Linked DNA regions of Homo sapiens: regions 2 and 3 are each linked to region 1. Evidence: promoter capture Hi-C in 16 types of primary human blood cells and fetal thymus (Javierre and others, 2016). All regions are on one chromosome and are shown on one strand. Each heading gives the region's core, a stretch centred on a gene start or on the middle of the fragment in contact. The rest is flanking DNA. Distances are from core to core; before and after follow the strand shown.

The links. Contacts are between HindIII fragments. The CHiCAGO score rates a contact against its expected background, and 5 or more counts as called.
Region 2: a contact is called between a fragment that was not itself captured here and the fragment with the promoter of LINC02213 in region 1, in 1 of 17 cell types (neutrophils). The highest score is 5.8, in neutrophils.
Region 3: a fragment that was not itself captured here is called in contact with the fragment with the promoter of LINC02213 in region 1 in 1 of 17 cell types (neutrophils); the score reaches 6.4 in neutrophils.

The regions. Positions count from the first base shown.
Region 1 is chr5:10,519,592-10,523,983 of GRCh38, reverse strand. It overlaps LINC02213 (long intergenic non-protein coding RNA 2213), which reads left to right and starts at 1,900. Exons shown (of 3, transcript NR_134289.1): 1 at 1,900-2,228. The HindIII fragment of the contact is 13,630 bases long and covers 1-3,135 here.
Region 2 is chr5:10,361,572-10,365,963 of GRCh38, reverse strand. The region is part of intron 1 of MARCHF6 (membrane associated ring-CH-type finger 6); the gene reads right to left. Among named protein-coding and RNA genes, the nearest start is that of MARCHF6-DT, 9.7 kb to the right of the region's middle. The HindIII fragment of the contact is 2,118 bases long and covers 1,429-3,546 here.
Region 3 is chr5:10,377,989-10,382,380 of GRCh38, reverse strand. It overlaps MARCHF6 (membrane associated ring-CH-type finger 6), which reads right to left. Exons shown (of 26, transcript NM_005885.4): 3 at 3,549-3,622; 4 at 438-581. Among named protein-coding and RNA genes, the nearest start is that of MIR10397, 22 kb to the left of the region's middle. The HindIII fragment of the contact is 714 bases long and covers 1,907-2,620 here.

The sequences.
Region 1 (4,392 bases), core at 651-3,150:
CACCGCACCCGGCCTTTCAAGGTCTTTAAAACTACTAAACAGCTCCCCAGGGCATGGCCGTTTCAGGCGTCTGGATAACATGTGTTTGGTGTCTAAGGCAGTCGGCCGTCAGCAAATGCTGAAGGAAACCTGGCGATGTGAAAATTGTCATTATTTGGTCACCCGAAAAAGTGAAGCTGAGGGCTGGAGGGCAAGGGAAAAGTTAAACCAGGAGTGAAATCACATTTCCATGTGCACTCACACAGGGAGAATGAGATTCCACCTCCCTCTTGATGCACCAGCCCAGCCCTGCAGGTTGAGTAGGAGGTGGTGTGAGAGGGCCCCCCCAGCACAGGCAGAACACCTGGAAGAAGACTTGACTCTGTTTCCTTTTGTGCCCTTCCCACGTCTCCCACCCTGCTGCCCGCTGCCCTGGCTAATGTGGGCTTGGATCATGAAATGATTTGGCTCTGTGTCCCCACCCAAATCTGAATTATCACTCCCATAATCCCAGTGGGAGGTAATCAAATCATGGGGACGGGTCTTTCCCCTGCTGTTCTCGAGATAGTGAATAAGTCTCAGGAGATCTGATGATTTTATGAAGGGTAGTTCCCCGCACAAGCTCTCTTGCCTGCCACCATGTAAAATGTGCCTTTGCTCCTCCTTCACCTTCCACCATGATTGGGAGGCCTCCCCCACCATGTGGAACTGTGAGTGCATTAAACTCTTTTTCTTTATAAATTACCCAGTCTTGAGTATTTCTTCACAGGAGTGTGAAAATGGACTAATACAGATCATGATCCCTGCCACAACCTTGCTTGAGTGTGGCCTACTGGGCCCTTCATTGTCTAAATCTGGCTCACATCTGAGTTTTGACTGAGCATCTCTCACCCTTTCTAGGGGCCACCTCTCTCTATTCACACACACATACAGACACACACACACAGGCACAAACATGTGCACACACACACACACATGTGCGTGCACCCCACTAAAGCAATACCAACCCGTTTGCCCAGGCCCAGCCCTCTCACTCCCCAATGCCCTCCCCTCCCCTTCTCAGGCCTGATGTCAGCCTCAATTCCACCAGCAGGCTTTTTTCAGGAACTTGCAACTCCTTCCAGTCAAAATACAGCATTTTCTGTATGCCCCACATTCTCAACGCACAGATGATGAGAGACAGACAGATAACTGTCTTCTCCCAGTTTAGTTAGTGAGACAAAAAAATACAATTGCCTGCCAAGTCTAAGCACCCTCTAGACCTGCACAGTCTTCCAGCCGTCCAGTCGAGGCCTAGGCCTGTGCCCATCAGAGGTGACACCACGGAATGAGCGTTTCCCGTGAGCCTGGTGCTCTTCGGGCACTAACAACACTCGGTCCTCAAACAGCCTGCCCAGGTGTGTACTGTTATCACCTCCATTGCACAGAGGAAGACGTGCAAGGCACAGAGAGGTTAAGTCACTTTCCCACTGCCACAGAGCTGGTAAGTGGTGGAGACTGGATTTGAACCTAGGCAGCTCTAGAACTCGCTCTCCTAACCAGAATCCAAAGGGCCTTGCCTCACCAAATGTCCCCATTCCCAGACCTGCATCACCCAACAGTGCCCATGACACGGGGTTTACCATAGTTATCTATGCTGCGTAACAAGCATCCCACATTTGATGGCATCAAACAAGAACCATTTTCCCATGCCCAGGGATTCTGCAAGTCAGGAGTTTGGAGAGGATGAAGCCTCAGCCAGGAAGCTGTGAATGGCCATGGCTGACATCCTCCAGGGGCTTCTTCCCTCTTAACCCCTGCCCTGGGAAGCCAGGTTCAGCCAAGCCTGTGTATGAGCCCCAGTGCCTGGCTGCTTCCTGTACCTTGGGCTTCTGGCAGCACAGAGGCGGAGTTCTGAGCAGGAACTTCCTGAAGGGAACGTTCCAAGGGAACCAGGCCTCAGCATCAGGCCTGTTCTGCCCTGGCCTCGGATTGTAGCACTACGCCAGCCTGGGACATCATCGGCATCGATTCTACTCCATCCTATCAGTCACAAGGGAGCCACAGGCCAGCCCTGGGTTCCCAGGGATGGAGAGACTCTGCTTCTGCATGCGGGAATGACACAGTCACACTGCAGAAGAACACGAGTGTAGAAGGCAGCATCATGGCCATTTTTGGTAAACACAACCTGCTGCTCACCCGCCTTGCCCAAGCCTACCTCTTCCAGAAACTTCTGTGTCCCAATTATGGTTCACCTTGATGTCCTAAAGGTATTGACTGCTTACTTCATTGGTCACATTGTCCCTGTGAATGGAAAACCATGACTTAGGGCTACCATACGAGCATTCCATGGTGGCCAGAGTGGCCTGACCCCCTAGTGGTACTAGTGGGGATGACGCTGGAACTGATAGTGGCCTCCCTCTTGTGTTGTTGTGGCATCTTTCCCGGCAATTGGGTGATCAGAAGACACCTGCATTTCTGACCCAAAGCTCTTACAACTTGCAATTGCTCAGGTGGTTGGGGGCGGATCACCTGAGGTTGGGAGTTCGAGACCAGCCTGACTAACGTGGAGAAACCCCAACTCTACTAAAATTACAAAATTAGCCAGGCGTGGTGGTGCATGCCTGTAATCCCAGCTACTCGGGAGTCTGAAGTAGGAGAATCACTTGAACCCGGGAGGCAGAGGTTGTGGTGCACCGAGATCACGCCATTGCACTCAAGCCTGGGCAACAAGAGCCAAACTCCATCTCAAAAAAAAAAAAAAAAAAAGGAACTTGAGCTTTCAGGTTATCATTTGACCATTGACCAAAAACAAGCAGCATTTCTGCTGTGGGGGGGGCGGGGGGGCAGGGGGGCCAGGGGGTGGAAATGGTACAGAATCTTATATTTGTTCAGCTGCTTTATTTTTTTTTTGGTGGCCCCTGGATGAAGAATGGAGATGCAGGCTTGCTGTGTGGCTATAATTGATTTAATACTCAAAAAAAGGGACCAAGAGTCAAAAGCATTTTCTCAAAGTACTCACTACTTTTAAATGACTCTCTAGAAGGAGAGGAAAGGAGGTTTCCTCCAACTCTGCTTTCCCTGGCCTTTGAGAGGCGTGGAAAGAGCCATACGTCCTCACAAATGGTATTCAAAATATGTTTGGCAGCAACTTTTTTATGAAAACACACAAAAGCTTGAGCTAGTACACTGAAATATTAAATACACTTCAATATTTTAGATACTCCTGAAATGCCAACTGACCAAACCAGTCTTTTTTCCCAACTGGGTGTGAAACTCACAACGATCAAGTTTAAGCAATGTATTCATAACTGAGCGTTGACCCCAGGAGATGCCCACTGCCCCAGTAGGGAGGGAGCCACGACTTCTGTGCAAGGGTGCGGCCATGATTGTGTTTTCTTGGAGCCTGCTTCCTAGAGGCGAGCTGACTTCTGTTCCAAGAGGACAGGACAGGCCGGGCACGGTGGCTCATGCCTGTAATCCCAGCACTTTGGGAGACAAAGGCGGAAGGATCACCTGAGGTCAGTTCAAGACCAGCCCGGCCAACATGGAGAAACCACGTCTCTACTAAAAATACAAAAATTAGCTGGCGTGGTGGCACATGCCTGTAATCCCAGCTACTCGGGAGGCTGAGGCAGGAGATTCACTTGAACCCGGAGGCAGAGGTTGCAGTGAGCAGAGATAGCACCACTACTTCAGCCTGGGCGACAAGAGTGAGACTCTGTCTCAAAAACAAACAAACAAACAAACAAAAAAACCCCAAGAGGACAGGACCAAAGAGTGAGGTGTGTGTTGTTGTGCTGGGCATGCCACCTTTGTGTCGACCAGGAGCCTCAGATCTTGGTGACTTTAGGTGCCTTACTTCACTTCTCATCTGTAAAATGGGAGGCAATAGTGATACTTACCCCATGGGGCTGCTGGGCAGGAGGCTGTTGAATGGCTTAATGTAAGTGAAATATTTTGAATATTCCTTGGCATAAAAGAGCTTCTTGCACCTGTCGTACCATCAACGCTCACCTGTCGCAACTAGCAATGGCATTTTGACAAGATGGTCGTTCTCACTTGGCTCCCCAGGGAAATGAGGTTCACACAAACATGCAAACACACACGCAAGCCACCAGTGGGGCCTCCTAGCCCACACAGGCTCCTGCACACAATAGGGGCTCAATCAGTGCAGTTGGCCCTGTGGTTAGCTGGTCTGCAGACCGGAAGGGTCACAGCTGGCCACTAACGCTAAGGACCCATGGGGAGCCTCTAGGCTCTTGGATTCCACTAGAGCTCACTTCATCCCAGAAGTGGTTTTCTTCTACTTCTCTTATGCCAGGAAACAATGCTCTTCTCTCCAGGACAGTCTCCAGCCTCAGGGACTCCAGCTGGTGTCAGAGCCAAGTGAGCGTCTGTGCCATTTGCCGACCACCTGGCCGACGTGGTGGC
Region 2 (4,392 bases), core at 1,238-3,737, 160 kb after region 1:
AAAAAACAAAAAAAAAGTATATATATGTATATATAACTATTTGCTAATATGGAAAGAGATATAACATTTTTAAATGACCACACTCCCTTACTTCCAACTAGGTAAAAACACCATAGCCTAAAGAAGAAAATGCAAAAAAAAGACAGCCACTGTAATTGGTCAGACGAGAACATGGGTAATTTTTCTTCCTTTCTCGTCCCCAAGTAGATAGTGTTTAATTGCTACTTTTACAATTACAGGCAGAAAAAAATGTTTAACTGCTCAAATTTTACAAAAAATATTTCCTTTTTGAGGGTGAGCGTATACCCATACACAAACTATGTGGGTTTGGGAATTAGGCCTTGCAAACACAGTTTAAAAATTCCAATTCTCGGCCAGGTGCAGTGGCTCACGCCTGTAATCCCAGGAGGCTGAGGTGGGCGGATCACCTGAGGTCGGCAGTTCATGACCAACCTGACCAACATGGAGAAACCCCACCTCTACTAAAAATACAAAATTAGCCAGGTGTGGTGGCATATGCCTGTAATCCCAGCTACTCGGGAGGCTGAGGCAGGAGAATCGCTTGAACCCGGGAGGCGGAGGTTGCGGTGAGCCAAGATCGTGCCATTGTACTCCAGCCTGGGCAACAAGAGCGAAACTCTGTCTCAAAAATAATAATAATAATAATAATTCCAATTCTCTATGTACCCCAAAGTTTACTTATTTTAGCTCACCAGATTACTATCGTTACTAAATTAAAAATTCACCTGTACTGTTGCTCCTGGAAGCCTGAAAACTGCACTTTCTGGCCTCCTTGCCAACTAGGCTTAAGTTAGAGTCTGTCAATGAGAAGCACTTCTGTGAGATCAGAAGAAGCAGGGAGGCTGGGTGCAGTGGCTCACACCTGTAATCTCAGCACTTTGGGAGGCTGAGGTGGGTAGATCAACTGAGGTCAGGAGTTCAAGACCAGCTTGGCCAACATGGTGAAACCCCGTCTCTACTAAAAATACAAAATTAGCCGGGCGTGGTGGCATGTGCTTGTAATCCCAGCTACTCAGGAGGCTGAGGCAGGAGAATCGCTTGAACCTGGGTGGCAGAGGTTGCAGTCAGCCAAGATCGCACCATTGCACTCCAGCCTGGGCGACAAGAGCGAAACTCCATCTCAAAAATAAAAATAAAGAAGAAGCAGAGAAACAGCGAAACCATTTTCTACTTGTTTCTAAAAACCAGCAGTTGCAGCTAATGGCAGGTACTGCAGACTCCTGCTAACAGATACGCAAGTCATGGTGGAGATTCTGCCCAACAGCTGTGGGCAACATCAAGCTTCAGCAGCACAGGCAATGAATGATTCCAACAATTTCAGCAGTAATGAGCTAGTTATCCATGTATCCCCTTCTCAACTCCAAATTCTCCCTTTCAGTCCCTGTTCAGTGATAGGGATGCTAAGCTTTTCTTTTCTTTTCTTTTGGCTAGGGGCAGTTAAACTTTGCCAGTAGAGGGTGCTGGAGGGATATCTAAGAAGAAAGGGGTGTTTTCTAGCTCCTGCCACACTATCAGTAGTTTTGTTTTAATGAACACCTTCATACAGCCCTGCTGATGAGGACCCAACACACTCCAGGACTTGCACAGGTACACACAGTGATATCCCAACTCCCTCTGCATAACTGCCCATCAACCTTGGCTCACCTGTACCCGGAAGGTTGCTTTCTGCTCCCCAGAAGAAGTGGTGTACCACTTTACACTCCCACCAGCAGTATATGAAAATTCCAACTGCTCTACCTCCTTACAAACACTTGGTACGGTCAGTCATTCTATTACCATTTTAGCCACACTAATAGGTATGTAATGATATCTCACAGTAGTTTTAATTAACAATTTTATTCAGATATATGTCATAAAGTTCACCAATTTAAAGACTTCAATTGTTTTAAGTATATTTACAGTTACGCAACCATCACCATAATCTTTTAGAACATTATCATCATCCCAAAAGGAAACCCTGTAACTATTAGTGGATACTTCCTACTCCATCTGCTCTCCCCAGTTCCAGACAACCACTAATTTCTCTATATATAGATTTGCCTATTCTGGACATTTCACACAAATAGGATCATAGAAAATATGTTCTTTTGTGACTGGCTTATTTCACTTATCCTAATGTTTATGAGATTTATCCAAGTTGTACCATGCATCAGTACTTAATTCCTTTGAACTGCTGGGTAATATTCTATTTTACAAATAGATCACATTTATCTACTCATCAGTTGATGGACACTGGGTTGTTTCTATTTGGCTATTATAAATAATACTGCTAACTCATATACAGGTTTTTGTGTGAATATATTTTTTGAATTCTCTTGGGTATATGAAATTTCTGGGTCATATGGTTACTCAGCTTATCTTTTTGAGGAATTACCAAAATCAGTCACACTATCTTACATTCCTAGCGTAACAAATGAAGGTTCCAATTTTTCTACAATGCTCACCAACACTTACCTGTTCTTTCTGATTATAGCCATCCTAGCAGGTGTGAAGTGGTGTCTCATTATGGTTTTGACTAATGATGCTTAGCATATTTGCATATGCTTAATAGCCATGTACATGTATTTTTTAGTGAAGTGTCTATACAAATCTTTGGACCATTTTAAAAACTGAGTTATTGTTTTCTTATTACTGAGTTCTGAGAATTTTTTATATACTCCAAGCCCCTTATAAGATACATCTTCTGTATCCTGTCTTCATTCTGTTAAGTGTCTTTCTAATTTTGAAAGAAATTCTGAATTTTGATGCCATCTGATTTATCCACTTCTTTTATGGATCATGCTTTTGGAGTCATACCTAAGAGATCTTGGTCTAACCCAAGATTCCGAAGAATTTCTCCTATATTTTCCCCTAGAAGTTTCATAGTTTTAGGTTTTTCATTGAGGTCTAACAGCCCTTTGAGTTAATTTTGGTATATGGTACAAGCTATAGCTCAAAGTTCTTTTTTTTTTCCTACAGCTATTCAACTATTCCAGTGCCATTTGTTGAAAAACGATATCCTTTATATTTTATGCAATTGCTTTTGCACTTCTGTCCAAAAATCAACTGTCCATGTATGTGTGGATCTATTTCTGGACTCTATCCTACACTACCAGACAAATGGATTTTAATTTAACAGTTAATTTAATTTTTTAAGGTGACTGCCATGTTTTCAGATACGTTAAGAAACTACCACTTGTCAAGTTTTGACATAGTATCAAAGAACATACAAACATCTGAAAATATTCATCCCTTTTCAAGCTATAAATCTGTGTGATGCCGAGTTTTTATATACACTAACCAAAACACTTAACAAAGTGACTGCAAAGGGAGAGATGAGAATCCAATTGTCTTATAATAATCCAGATAACGTTATTTTTATTAACATATATTGAGTTTATTGTTACTTTTAAATATTCTAAATAATTTGTATTCATTCTTCATTTCTAATATGGTAAATATCTATCTTTACATATAAAACCCACATAAACAAAAGTCCTTTGGGTCCTCAATTTTAAGAATGTAAAGGGGTCTTGGGACAAAGCTTTGAAAACCACTACTCTAGCTACATCAATGCTCTTCAAACTGTTCCATTCAATAGAAATGCCTCTTGGCACTTTTCAAGGACTTGGAATGAAGAAATGAAACATGCAGAAAACATTGTTGCACAGGTCCTAGATACGTAGTAGACATGTACCCAATATTTGGTAAATGGGGAAGTAATCAAAAAAGACATGGAATCTCCAATATTCTATTTCAAAAGTGTTATAACAGAACTGCACCCTAAACAGGGTAAATTTGTGTGTAAATTATACTTTATTAACCTGATTCCATCTTTACAGAATACATTAAGAGGTGACAGAAGGGAAGGAGAGAGACAGGAAAGTAAAAAGTGTATTACAGCCAGGCACAGTGGCTCACACCTGTAATCCCAGCACTTTGGGAGGCCGAGGTGGGCGGATCACCTGAGGTCAGGAGTTCAAGACCAGCCTGACCAACATGGAGAAACCCCATCTCTACTAAAAATACAAAATTAGCCAGGTGTGGTGGTGCATGCCTGTAATCCCAGCTACTCGGGAGGCTGAGGCAGGAGAATCCCTTGAATCCAGGAGGCGGAGGTTGCCATGAGCCGAGATCGCGCCATTGCACTGCAGCCTAGGCAACAAGAGCTAAACTCCGTCTCAAAAAAAAAAAGATATTATAATGAAGTTAAGTTATAAAAAATAAGTGTACAGGGAATGCTTCAGTCTTCCAAGCCTTCAAGAATTCATGTCTATCATGGGCTGAATTGCACTGCCCCTCCCCCCGTAATTCACGTGTTGAAGCCCTAACCTGCATGTATACACAATGTAACTATATTTGGAGACAGGATCTTTAAAGAGGTAATTAAGT
Region 3 (4,392 bases), core at 1,014-3,513, 140 kb after region 1:
ATTCTCCTGCCTCAGTCTCCATGTTGGCCAGGCTAGTCTCAAACTCCTGACCTCGTGATCCGCCTGCCTCGGCCTCCTGAAGTGCTGGGATTACAGGCATAAGCCACCGCGCCCGGCCGTCTTTTGTAGCCCTTGAAAGCTCTAGCATACTTCATATCTAATTATGATTTGATTTGATTTTTTCAACGCTTTCATGAACTTTCATGGTTAGCCATTCTGTATGCTGTGTTCTTTCCCACATTCACTCAAAAAACTGACCTGTTAAACTCATTCTTAGTTCCGATGAACATCTTCTAAGTAAGGCTTTCCTAATACATGACACTCTGACATCAAATAACTAAACATCAGTCAAATAATAATATGATGCAATATTGCTTTATAATATTAAGTAGTTATGCAATGTTTAAATAACTCCAATCAGAGGCATGAATACTCACATGCTGTAAGAGGAACAACTCCCAACCATGCAAAGGCCACAAGTGTATAATGAAACCAATATCGTATTGCAGTGCCAATACTTGTAACCAGTCCAGCAAATATGTCTTGAATTGGAAGCCGTGAAGGCATATCTGGAGAATAAACTATAAGCGGAAAAAAAGTACTTACAGTTTCATGAAGATTCGAAAATAGCTTAATTCATAAATATAAAATAGACATTAACTAAACTTCCAATATTTGCCTTGTGCTTAATTTTTTTCCTATTTAAAAAAAATAAACCAAATAGTTATAATATCACATTTACCCAAGAAGTCATTTATGAGGCAAATCACATGTGAAACGTGGAAATCAACAAAGGCCTCTGGGCAGGAAAAAAAAATTCAATAGATGTTCACATCCCTTGCTAATAGCCATGAACCTCATACAAGGCCCATTTACACACATTTTAACATTCAACCAATATAATCATCTGGTTTCCCAAACTATAAAAGATGTAATAAAGCAAACAGGAGCAAAAGATGAAGCTGACAACAAGCCATCAACACTCCCCCAAATATAAGCATTAAATAGCACTCAAAAAGCACAACAGTCCGCAGCAGATCATTTCATGTGGGAGCAAACATCCCACTGACATTTGTTAGCCACTTTCCCGATGTTAGCATAATACTTAAAATTTCAAATGATAAATTCAGATCTTCCCACTACTCTGAGAAATGTGGCTCAACACATTCAGAAAAAGAAAAGTTCTGCCACATTTAAAAAGGATTCCCTTTTAAAATGGTTCCAATAAAAAACCACTGCCTATTATCAAAAACCTCTACCACAGGTAGCTCGGAAAGAACATAAAGGAAAAACAAACAATTCTTTCTCCAGTAAGGCCAAAACAAGAAATTATGATATATCAGGGTTTAAAAGCAATGATCTAAAATTTATAAGAACACTATCACAAAACTGTTCACACCTATAAACATTGAGAAATAAACAACTGACAAATAGCACCTTTTTTTTTTTTTTTTGAGTCAGAGTCTCACTCTGTTGCCCAGGCTGGAGTGCGGTGGCATAATCTCAGCTCACTGCAAACTCCGCCTCCCAGGTTCAAGTGATTCTCCTGCCTCAGGCTCCCAAGTAGCTGGGATTACAGGCGTCTGCCACCACACCTGGCTGATTTTTGTATTTTCAGTAGAGACAGGGTTTCCACCATGTTGGCCAGGCTAGCCTCAAACTCCTGACCTCAGGTGGTCCGCCTGCCTCAGCCTTTCAAAGTGCTGGAATTACAGGGGTGAGCCACAGCACCTGGCCACAAATAGCAACTTTTAATGGCACATGCCCACAGATCATTGACTTCGATAGGATATCTGGTATACAAGAGCAAGTCATTAAAACCAGGAATAATAGAGATTTTTTGCAAAAGATAAAAGAAATAGAGAATGTAACTATCAAATGAAAATTAAAATGTACAAAACAAGCTTCTATTGGCCTCAAAGTAAAAGCCCACATATTTCCTATCAACTGAATTTCATGAAGATACTCAACTAGTTAGTCTTAGTTTCCTATGAATCTTGACAAGCTGTACAGCTTTTACGTACTACAGAAAATTAATGACTACAAAATAACAGAATTGACTTTTTTATGATGAATATACAGCTCCAAAAGTGAAAATGTAATAACTTTAATCATTTATACTCATCAAATAAAAACAAAGTAAAACACTAAGTTACAGCATTTATATCGAGAAGCTCAAGATGCTTAAACACACACACACACACACACACACACACACACACACAACTAAAACACAAAAATCCTTTGTAAGGGAAGGCAATATAGGGGATCCCAGAATGAAAAATTATGCTTCAAATATTTAATAACTTGCCAGCACAGTCCTCTACTTATTTGAGATAAAACATATTAAATATTAATAGGCACAGGAATCATAGTTAAAACCTTAAAGGCTGCAAAAATATTTTATAAAGGCTTATGAAATATTGACCTTAAAAGTTAGCCTCATGAAAAAAACGGTAATTTAAAACTTTGTTTGGCCAAGCAATGTGGCTCAAGCCTGTAATCCCAACACTTTGGGAAGCTGTGACAGGAGAATTGCTTGAGGCCAGGAGTTCAAGAACAACCTGGGCAATATAGTGAGACCCTCTCTCTATTTTTTATTATTTTTTTAAAAAAAGCTTGCTGGGCGCGGTGGCTCACGCCTGTAATCCTAGCACTTTGGGAGGCTGAGGCAGGCAGATCATGAGGTCAGGAGATCGAGACCATCCTGGCTAACATGGTGAAACCCCGTCTCTACTAAAAATACAAAAAAATTAGCCAGGTGTGGTGGTGGGCACCTGTAGTCCCAGCTACTCGGGAGGCTGAGGCAGGAGAATGGCGTGAACCCGGGAGGCGGAGCTTGCAGTGAGCTGAAATCACGCCATTGCCCTCCAGCCTGGGCAACAGAACAGAGCGAGATTCTGTCTCAAAAAAAAAAAAAGCTTTATCTTTATGACTATTATTCTAACCTATACAACTTTAACTCAAAATGTAGTCCAAATTTGAAGAGTACTGAATATTTGATGAAATCAAGGCATCATTGTTTATTTTTCTAGGTGGATAATGGTATTATAGTTACGTTTTTGAAAAAGAACCCTTACCTTTTAGAGATACATACTGAAGTATGTACAGATGAAATTACAAATGGTAGAATTATTTTTTAAATAATAGAGAAAAAAATAAAAGGATAAAGAGGCAGGGAACAAGAGTGTATGTAAAACAAGACAGGCTATGAGTTGACACTAAGTGATGGGTTCATGTGGACTTGTTAGATTTTTGCATGTGTTCGAACCTGTCTACAATTAAAAGTAAATAAATTTTAAAGACAAAAAAAAACACCCCACAAATCTCAAACATGTGTGTGATAAAAGACAGCATACAGTTTTTCAAAATATTTTCCTAAATATCAATACTTCCTATTACTATCAAAAAAAATCAAGCTGAAAATAATTGCTTTAAAGTGCTTAAGCACTTTTATCCCCCTTCCTCTGTCAACTGATCATATCAAACACCTTTATGCCACGAGTGATAACCAAAAAAAATGCAGTGAAAATGTCTAAAGAACTTACTTGGTGTAAAAGCAAATCTGTGCTTGCATAATTCACAGTATTCTTTTCGACTGTGTTTCAGCCATTGAACTAAGCTGTAATTATAAATAGATTCATAAGTACAGTGTTTACAGCAAAGAAACATTACAGTTTTGTCGAAAACATTGTTTTTATTAAAAATGTATATATCACAGAGCTTTTAGTTTCAAAATTTTCAAATTTAGAATATTCTTAACTTTTTGTAACTGCCTTCTAAGAATGAAAAACTACAACAGCTAGAGATAAAAACAACACATTTTTCTACCATTAAAAAAGGTTCAATTAATCAAAACTGTAATTTCCTCAAAGCAAAATGAACATGAAAGAATCTCTAAGCATCAACATCAGTTTTAATCCTGGTCTGATAATACTGGTACCTGGTAGCTAGGTCTGAATCCTGGTTCTGCCACTAACTGGCTGGCTATGTGGCCAAGGACAAGTTATCTAGCCTTCCCATGCTTCAATTTCCTCATCTGCATAATAATAATACTCCACCTCATCACAATTTTCTTATAAGGATTAAAAATGAGTTGAGATGTACAAACCACTAAGAACAGTTCTTGGCAAAAAGTACTTCATAAATGTAAGCTACTATTATGCCAAGCAAAACTAGAAAATCATAACACTTTCAGAGGACAAAATAAGCTCTCCATGGTAGAAATAAACAATGGGTAATTACGTGTACCTGGAAGAGGATACACCAAAATAACAGCCATGGTATTAAGAATTAATGGATAATTTCTTTTCCAAATTTTTTAATTTTTACAATAAAAGGGCTTTTTCAGTTTCCTGTGCTCAGGAAAATACAATAAAACTTTTAAAAATA